Linked DNA regions of Homo sapiens: region 1 is linked to region 2. Evidence: promoter capture Hi-C in 16 types of primary human blood cells and fetal thymus (Javierre and others, 2016). All regions are on one chromosome and are shown on one strand. Each heading gives the region's core, a stretch centred on a gene start or on the middle of the fragment in contact. The rest is flanking DNA. Distances are from core to core; before and after follow the strand shown. Region 1 overlaps APBB3 (amyloid beta precursor protein binding family B member 3). Region 2 holds the start of DND1 (DND microRNA-mediated repression inhibitor 1).

Region 1 (4,426 bases), core at 441-2,940, 110 kb before region 2:
GGTACAGAGTTAGGCATGGACCCAGAGCCTACTTCCCCAGCCTTCCCAGATAAGTTTAGGGCATATGGAGCAGAGAGGGTTTCAGCCGGAAGGCATCAAGAAAAGAGAAGACACCCCGCTTTCGAGGGGTTGCCCCTGCACCGCCAACCCCTCCTTTGAGCAGGGGGAGGGGCAGGGGACCTCCTGGGGAATCCATGGAGCTGGTCCGCTTGAGCCGCAGGCGGGCACGGGCCTGGGCACCCCAGGCCTTGCCTCGAGCTGCAGAGGCCACAAGACACTTCTGGTACTGAACCTAGGGAGAAGGGGAATGTGAGGATCCAGCTACTTTCTGCCTCTAGACTCCCTGAAAGCTTCTGCAGGACAGGGAACTGGCCAAAGCTTCTGTCTGATAACAAGGTTGGTAGTCAGCCACATGTGGAGTTTCTAGAGCATTCCCAGGTAGCTCAATAACAAAATCATAAAACATGTATCAGACACTTAAGGAGGGCAGGCTGGACACTGCTAAGTGCTTTGTATAATTCAGTTATTTATGAGGGGTTATTATCCCTGTTTTGCAAAAGAGGAAATTGAGATTCAGAGAGTATATGACTTGCCCAAGGTCACACAGCCAGAGAAAGGCAGAAATGGCATTCAAACCTAGTTCTCTCTGATTGCAGAGCCTAAACTCTTAATTACATGTACCACTATGTTGCCTCTTTTCCATCTCTCACTGGTGGGGACTAGTCCCTGGCAAAGCAGATTCCCTAGTCAAGGGTAAAGGTGTACAACTCAAACTCCAGCCCCAATGCAACTGCTCCCAGTCATCTCATCTGAACAGCTCAAAGGTGTCCTAATTGGCCTTCCTACCTCCTATTACGTCCTCCAAATCTTTTACCCATACTATAGCTTAAGTGGTCATCCTAATCCATAACCCTGACTTCACTCTCGGGCTCCAGTGCTTCCTAGTGCCTCCAGATAAACTCATCACCCTGACCTATGAGGTCCCCCAAACCTGGCTTCTGTCATTCTCTCTGATCTCACCTCTCACTACGTCCCCCTTGCATGCCAGATACACTAGATTCTTTCAGATACTCTCATCCACTAATATCTCTCACCTTCACAGCTAAGGTTCCCTGTGCTTGGTACACCTGCCCCACTCCCCTTCACCTGGCTAACTTCCCTCTTGGACTGTCGGATTTCTATCACCTCTTACAGGTAGCCTTCCTGACCCCTAAAGGGGCCACCTCTTCCATCAACCAGTGGTGTACAACTTATTTCTGGTCTATCTTGGCTCTATCCTAAGTGTTTTGTGAAGGCAAGGGCTGTGCCCTCTACAGCACTAAATTCTCAGGGTCAGCTATGGTGTCTGGGACCCTGTAGGCACCCATATTTGTTGAATGAATGGGCAAACTGAACTAACGAAGTATAAGCAACCCACACTCAAATGCCCACAGATGCCAGGAAATAAACCTAAATGAGACAAACAGGAACAATGCCAACTCTTTAGGGCACAGCTTCTGCACAACTCTGGCTGCATGCTGACACTTACACGTGTGAACTGAGTGCCAGAGCTCTTGATATTTTAAGAAAAACAAGAATAGCGATTATTATGTGAAATGTCCTGGCCTTTAAATATTGGCAACTAATTAAAACTTACTAAAAACAACATGAGGGCCAAAACATTAATGAACCAGAATCAGCCCAGGTTTGTGATCTCTGAAGAGGCTGCCGACCCGGAGCCCAAGTAAACAGTGGAGAGCAGCTGCAGGGCAATCCCACCAACCCATTCCCACCCATGACTCACCATACAGGCAGCCTGCACAGCTTCAGAGAGTCCCCCTGCATGGGGCTGGCACCAGAAGGCTGCGCACTGGAAGCTCTGACGGCCCAGGTCAGCGATGAGGCCAAAGGTGTGTGGGTCGCGGCCAACACCAATAAATGTCACAAGGCGCACAGGGCACTGCCACAATGGCTCCTCCTCTGTACTGGCCTCTGCCTGCCCACACCAGGCCTAGTCACTAGAGGGCCAAGCACGGGCCAGACCCACTTAACTTTTCCGACAGCAAGCAGTGACCCCTCAGCATCCCTGCTCACCCCTCCAAAGCCCCCAACTTCACCCTCTTCTGGTACCTGAATGGGGTGTGCAGTCATGAGAGAGTCAGACACACTGAGCATGGTGGGGACCCAGGCATTCCGGTCCCCCCTGGCGGTGAGGGTACCAATGGCCTCGTTCAGCACATCCATGCCTGGGGGAACATACCCAGCGTGTCTCCCAGTGTAAAAGAAAGAGTCTGCAGGGAGTGTCTAGCCCCCTCTCACTGATTTGGGATTCAGAGATAGGGAATAGGATAGCTGGGGCAAGCCTTAGAATTCTGATTTGGGAAGGCTGGTAGACCCCAGGCCATAACAAGGCCACGGGAGGACTCTTGAGAAATGATAACAGGCCTCACCTCACTCACCTTCCCCTTGCCTCACACAGCCCACCACATGCAGCCCCCTCAGTCCTCACCCATGGCCTTGGTGACTGGCAGTGTCCCCATATACAGTGCCTCGTACTTCTGAGCAGCTTGGCTTACCGCATCCAGCAGCTCCACTGAAATATACACACCAAGTTGGCCTGGAAGCTCTTTCAATTACCCTTTTCCCCACCCTTCTCAATGGGCCAGGACTCAGGTCAGAGCTGGTGCTGGTAGAAGAAATGGCTCATAGATGCTCCTCCAACTAGTGGCTTGGGATCCCTGAGACCAGACATCTCAGAAATTTATCCACAGAAGTATTAAATAACCAGAAATCGCCCCCCCACAAAGCAGCACCAAAGCACCCCAATGCAGCAATGCAGGTCTCCCCTCCCCATACCTTGCCGTGGCAGGTCTTCAGGAGAGATGGGGTCTGGGGAGCAGCAAGAGGCATCACCACTGACCTCTACTCGCTCTGACAAGATCTAAAACACAATGAAGCCAGCATGACCCACAGGGAGAGAGGGGAATTAGGGTAAAAGGGCCAATACCACCCCAACTACCTTGGAAGCTTCAGACCCAACCCCTTACCCACATTCCCTGCCCCACCCCTGACACTTACCTGGGCACAAAGCCCATGTAGGGCACTGGCAATGGCCTTGGCAGGGACATCACAGCAAAACACATGGCACTTGAGCATACAGCTATCTTTGTCACTTGCCACAAAAGCGAAGTCCCTAGCAGGGGCAGAGATGGGGCTGGGGTAGAAGCTGGTTAGAGGCAGGAGCCTGCAGGAGGCTGGAAAGTCAGGCTAGGGATATAGCAGGGATGGAGTAGGGACATCAGGGATGGGGCTCAGGATACCTGGTTTTCACTCACCTGTCACTGTTCCGGAAGCATGTGGGAGCACAGAAGGGAATCAGCCCAGCCTCTCGGACTCTCCCCAAACTGTCCCTGCTGAGCTGGGCCCACCCTCCCCAACCAGGGCTGGACCAGGCAGGGGAAGCAGTCCTGGGTCCACATCAGAGGATCTGTGTCCAGGGGTTCAAGTACTGGGGATCAGCATCAGTGGGGATCACAGCCTGCAGCCGGGAGGGAGAAGTAGCTCTTGCTTGGGGGATGTAGGCATCCTCACCGGCCCTTGGAGCTCCCCACGCCCCACACACGGATGTGCACCAGAGGCTGGCAGTGGATCAGACTGTGGTCCAGGGGATTCACTAGGCTCATGGCATCCTTCTTCAGGATCATCAGCATGTTCTGGCCCTGCCAAGGACAGAGGTCAGCCCAGAGCTCAGATAAAGGTCATTGCCATGAGAAATAGGAAATTCAGGGACAGCTACCTCTGCTGGGCCCTGGGCCCAAACCATTAAAGGGCCCAGCCAACTCACCTCACCCCAGGCACCATCTGGAGGCTGGCTCCGGCTGCGGGTCTGGGCCAGCTGCTGGATACAGTTATTGACTGCAATACTGCTCTTCCCCGGTGCCAGGTCCTCTTCAGGTACCTCTACCCAGCCCAGAGAGCGGACTGCAAAGCACTGACAGGTTGGGGGAAGGGACAGGAATTAATAAGGATGGAGTAGGGTGGCAGGTGCCACAATACATACTCCCTGTCTTCACCCTTGATCACCTCTGTTCAGTCCAATCCCACCCTTGTCTTTCCCTTGGGACCTCCCAATGCCCTCAGGCCCAAGTCACTACCTTAGCCCCTGGCTCCATGCTCTGGATGTAGGATTCCCCACCATACCAGGACAGAGAGTTACTGAAACAGAGCAGAGCTGTTAAGAGGACCACATTTCCTACAGTAGGGACACTGGTGAGGCCTAGACAACTTGATAAGCACAGGATGAGGGGCAAGACCCAGAATATAGCACCAGAAATATAAAACCAGAGCAGGGTAGAGCCCAGGACATATTAACGTAACATAAAGTGTGACTCAGAATTTGAGGGAAAATTCAGGACATAGGACCCAGACACAGGACATAGAATAAAAG
Region 2 (4,730 bases), core at 1,313-3,812:
TCGGGTGGGGGTGGGACAAGGAACGGCCATGGAAGATCACTGGGTCAGGTTGGACCCTGGGCTGGGAGCGGGAGGGCAAGGCCCCTCACCACAACTTAACCCAAACCTAAGCTGCCCCCAGGTGCCATAGGTCCCTGTCCCAGCAGGGAGGCTGATGGGCCTGGGCCCATGCCCCTCCCCACCTTTGGGGGTCAGAAAGTGGCCACCCAGGCCTGCTGGGATGGGGCCTGACACAGGCTCTGCATGCCCATTCAGGGTGCCTGTGGAGAAAGAATGGAGTCACTGTTTAACCATGGTACCTGCCTCAGCCCCAGCAGACCACAGGAGGTTGGCCCCAGACTCACTGAGTGCCTGCAGCAGCCGTACAGACACAGCATCCTTGGCCACCTCATGCCCATCCCGGCCATCTAGGGTCAGCACAACCCAGATGAGGCCGCTGAAGGGCACCGGATGCCCAGGAATCACCACCTGGTACCAGAAGCGGTGCCAGCCAGCAGGTCCTATGCCCAAACACTTGGTGAGGAACACAGGGCTGCCCAGCTTCATTCGTTGGCACAGCAACTGCAGGGTAGCCCGAGCCCCTTGGAACCCTAACTTGTCCCTTGCCAAAGCCAACTGGCTGCCCTCTGGCTGTGGGGACCGCAAGAAGGGACCCACAAGCTGCTGGCGAAGTCGCTGCTTCAGGTCTGGCTTGAGCCACTCCACAGCCACCTGCTCTCCACAGAGGTGTGACTGCCCTGTAGGAAAAATGCAAAGACAAGGGCAGGTCTAAACCCTGGGCCCAAGCCTCCAGGTGGTGAGCCCTTTGGAGCTACACAGTCCTGTTATTTGTAGCCTTCCCATTTCCTGGTAGTGTGACCATGGGTAAGAAAAGACAATGAAGCCTTCAGCCTCCATTATTTGCAAAGGGAGTATAACACACTGCTACCTTACAAGTTTCCTTGGAGAAGTACTGGTTAATTGCAGGCTTTGTCTGCCTCATAACCATCATAATGGCTAATCTTTACTGGGAAAACTTGCTGTAAGTCAGTCAGTGTGCTAAGTACCGTACACCCATTATGTTACTTAATTCTCATAACAGTCTGAGGAAACAGATTCTATAGTAGTAAAAAGCTCAGTTGGATTCCCTTGAGCAAATCAATTTCTCTAACAGTTTCCTCATAGCTTGAGGGTCCTGTGCCTATTTTGCGGTGTGGGGGTGGGGGAAGGTTGAGAATTAAGTCAGGAGGTAATGCTCGGGAAGTGTCACAAATTTAGGTAAGCGGTGGTGGTAGCACCATTGGAAGTTTTAAAAATCTGAGATCAAATAGTAAAAGGTTGCAAATTCTGGCATGTTTGACTCTAAGATCTTGTAACTTTAACAGCTATGCTCAGTATAAAGTGCCGGGCAGAACGCGTTTGGCCCCAACCAGCACCCCCGCCCCAGCCTACCTTCCACCAGGGCCTTTTTGGCCATGGCAGCGGCCCGGTGCGAGCTGAATTTGAGCAGAGCGATCTGCCCGGGCGCCGGTCCGGGGCTGGGCAGCAGCCGCGCCTCCTGCAAGCCGGGACCCAGCGGCTGCAGCGCGAGCAGCAGCGCGCTGCGGGTCAGATTCGGCGGCAGGCCGTCAACGCTCAGCTCACACTTCTCGGTGCTGCGGCACACGAGCAGCGGGCAGGACGGCCGCAGCGGATGGTTGTGCAGCGTGGCGATGGCGGCCTGCGCGCCGCGCCTCGAGCTGTAGCGGGCATAGGCGAAGCCGCGGTTCAGGCCGCTGAAGGTCATCATCAGGCGGAACTCGTAGAGGCGGCCCACGCGCTGGAACAGCGGGATAAGCTGGTGCTCGTACACGTCCTGAGGCAGCCGCCCGATGAACACCTCTGACCCAGCTGGCGGCGGGCTGCCCACCCAGCCTGTGGGAAGAGGGTATGCAAGGCCACCGTCAGGCGACGCTTTCGAATTCTGAGCCCACGGACCCAGCGCGCGGGGGTGGGAGGCGATGTGAACAAAGGTCTGTGAAATGGGTTTACACCCGTACCCTGGGTGGTTGGCATAATTAGGTGACTGCGCTAACAAGGGGGCTGGCACAGAGTAGGTACACCTTGAGATTGGCCCCCTCCCTCGACGGGGCGGGTGGACGTGGAGCCACAGTTCCTCCTTTGCTGGGGGGTATAAATCCGGGTAGTTCGCAGTTTCTGACAGTGAAGGCTCGGAGCAGCCCCTCCCCCAAAGGGGGCTGGTGTAGCCGGACAGGCGGAGGGGCTGGGACTACCGTACCTGGGGGTGGCCCGCCATACTTCCTCTGCCCGTTCACCTGCACCAGGCGGATGCCTGTCTCCCTGACCCACGCCTCCAGCGCCGCCTTGTTCTCTGGATTCACCCTCTCACACCACAGCTGAGAGGGAAAGGAAGGTTGGAATGGCGGATCGCCAAGCGCGCCCCCACCTCTCCTGTGGTACTGGGGTCCCTAAAGCCGACCCCCGCTCCGGCGGGGCTCGCCGGCCCCCAAGTCGCCAGCCGCTTACCTCACAATCCCGCTTGGACTGCATGGCTCTCCAGCTGGCCCCCTCGTACCCTCTTTATAACTTCCTCCCCACCGGCCTCTGGAAGCTTCCCTACCCCTCCACCCCGCAAGCTCTCATTGGCTCTGAGCGCGACCCCGCCTCCCAGGGGGGTGGAGGTATCCACTGCACGTGCGCCGCCCGGGCTTCGCTCAGACCTTCAGGTGAAAGCTGCAAAGTCGCGGGTGCGTATGTACGGGGGCTGCCTCCCGAGGAGGAGCTCCCAAGCCGCAGGGTGGACGCTGGAGACAAGAACCTCAGGGTCACAAGTTTACTGTTTTTCTCCCTTTTCCATCCCTACATTGGTCTGCTGGGGAAGGCGGGGCTAGGCATCACTGACACACGCAGACTCCGTGGTTGAGGCATTTTATTGGACCTTTGGCAATTGGTGGTGGGGAGGCATCTGCTCCAACTGGTGCGGGGCCCTGCAGATGGGACCATCTCAGGCTGGGTCCTTGTAGCCCAGGAGCACAGACTGGACTAAGCCTCCTGGGCCTTGTATGAAAAAGGTGTTGTACCTGGCCGTTTTTGCCAGTAATAATCAATAAAATAACCATAATAAAAATCAAAGGCTCTGTTCTGACCACTCTTCAGGTCTTCCGCTGAAACGGAAAAGTGCAAAGCAATTGAAGTACATATGCAGTTTGTCTTAACCTCAAATAGTGCCAGTCCCACTTCCTTTCCTCTGATAGTTTGTTCAGTTCAGCAGATGCAGAGGGGCTGGCCTGTTCTCCTTTTGATTTCCTCCACAAGGTCTTCTCTTCGGACATCCACCTGGCCAGGATGGGAGAAGAAGGTGGTATAAGCATCTTCCATTCCACTGCTCCCCGAGTGCCTAGTTTCCTCTAGCCCTCTAGGCATCAGGCTTGTCTCAGCTGGGAGCAGGAACCTAATTAAACACCTCAGGCTAGAGTGTGCCTCTTGGGGGAGCCAACAAACCATAAGGTATATGCAGGGATGGAGATCTCACCCTACTAAGACCACAGTAACAGGTTAAGCCCTCAAGGCTTTTATGAGTTGTACTAATATCAATGCCAGGCTTTTTCTCAGGTCTTGAATGGGCATGGGCCTGCCAAAATGGCATACATTCTCTGTCCCTTAGCCTTCCTGCCCACCTCCCTCACCTCTTCCCTGCTCGTCACTGAACGGAGCTTGATGACCCCATCCTTGAGTTCCTGCTCGCCGATGATAGCCACCAGTGGGATGCCTGCCTCCTCACAGTACTGTAACTGGTTCAGTAGCTTTGGGTTCTTCTTGTACAGCAGCTCAGCCTGCAGGGGACAAGAGCAGAAGATGAAGGCTGGCTTCTGCTGTCCTCAGGGACAGAGGGTGTCCAAGCTGGCACCCTGTTCTTAGCTCTACTTTTGAGAAGTAATGGCAGGATCCATTATGGGTGAGCTTTTATTCAGTTTGTGTCCAGCACACCTAAGTTTGCTGCCACCCTGGGGCTTGCCTCCCATACCTTGATCCCAGCATCCCACAGTTCTGAGACAAGCTTTAGTCTTTCCTCTAGCAGCTTCTTCTGTGCAGATGCCACAAGCACCTGTGTCTCCGTGGTCCGTATCTTCTCCTCCAAAGCCTGGGGAAGGGGCAGATAAAAGAGAGCTGGGCTAACACCTTCAAGGAGCAAACAAAGCAGGCTCTAGTCGGGATTTTGAGACCAGGCCCAACTCAGCTCTACCAGGGCAGGGGCCCTGTCTTCTCATCTAGCACCTTGGGCATAAAGGTAGCTTTTAGTAGATATGAGGACTGAACTGACTGACTTGTACATAGGACGTATCAGAATAAATAACTTAGGGCAAGAGTAAAGGTAGCTTTTTTACAGTAACTTCAAGCTTATCTCCATGTAGTACCTTTTTTTTTTTTTTGAGACAGGGTCTCTGTCATCCAGGCTGAAGTGCCGTGGTGTGATCACTGCAGCTTCGACCTCCCAAGCTCAAGTGATCCTCCCACCTCAGCCTCCTGACTACAGGCACACACCACCATACTCAGCTAATTTAAAAAAAAAAAAAAATTTTTTTTTTTAATCTGTAGAGACAGGGTCTCATCATGTTGCCCAGGCTGGTCCATGTAGTACCTTAAGGGTCCACCAAAGCATTCACACAGAAGTACTACTATGAGCCCACCCCAATTAGATCACCCTTGACAGTTTTAGTCCCCACTTACTATCTACCCATTTATGACACTGT

Evidence for each region. Contacts are between HindIII fragments. The CHiCAGO score rates a contact against its expected background, and 5 or more counts as called.
Region 1: a contact is called between a fragment that was not itself captured here and the fragment with the promoter of DND1 in region 2, in 12 of 17 cell types (monocytes, total CD8 T cells, non-activated CD4 T cells and 9 more). The highest score is 8.0, in monocytes.

What each region holds. Positions count from the first base shown.
Region 1 is chr5:140,558,530-140,562,955 of GRCh38, forward strand. It overlaps APBB3 (amyloid beta precursor protein binding family B member 3), which reads right to left. Exons shown (of 13, transcript NM_133173.3): 4 at 4,134-4,194; 5 at 3,824-3,970; 6 at 3,571-3,698; 7 at 3,315-3,320; 8 at 3,058-3,172; 9 at 2,836-2,920; 10 at 2,489-2,572; 11 at 2,110-2,225; 12 at 1,784-1,975; 13 at 1-292. The coding sequence ends at 56. Among named protein-coding and RNA genes, the nearest start is that of MIR6831, 3.0 kb to the right of the region's middle. The HindIII fragment of the contact is 2,628 bases long and covers 377-3,004 here.
Region 2 is chr5:140,671,014-140,675,743 of GRCh38, forward strand. It overlaps DND1 (DND microRNA-mediated repression inhibitor 1), which reads right to left and starts at 2,563. Exons shown (of 4, transcript NM_194249.3): 1 at 2,506-2,563; 2 at 2,258-2,375; 3 at 1,432-1,893; 4 at 1-737. The coding sequence starts at 2,529. The coding sequence ends at 280. It overlaps WDR55 (WD repeat domain 55), which reads left to right. Exons shown (of 7, transcript NM_017706.5): 7 at 1-1,332. HARS1 (histidyl-tRNA synthetase 1) reads right to left here. Exons shown (of 13, transcript NM_002109.6): 11 at 4,004-4,120; 12 at 3,666-3,812; 13 at 2,892-3,315. The coding sequence ends at 3,244. RefSeq lists enhancers at 1,437-2,232, 2,233-3,028. The HindIII fragment of the contact is 8,462 bases long and covers 1-2,588 here.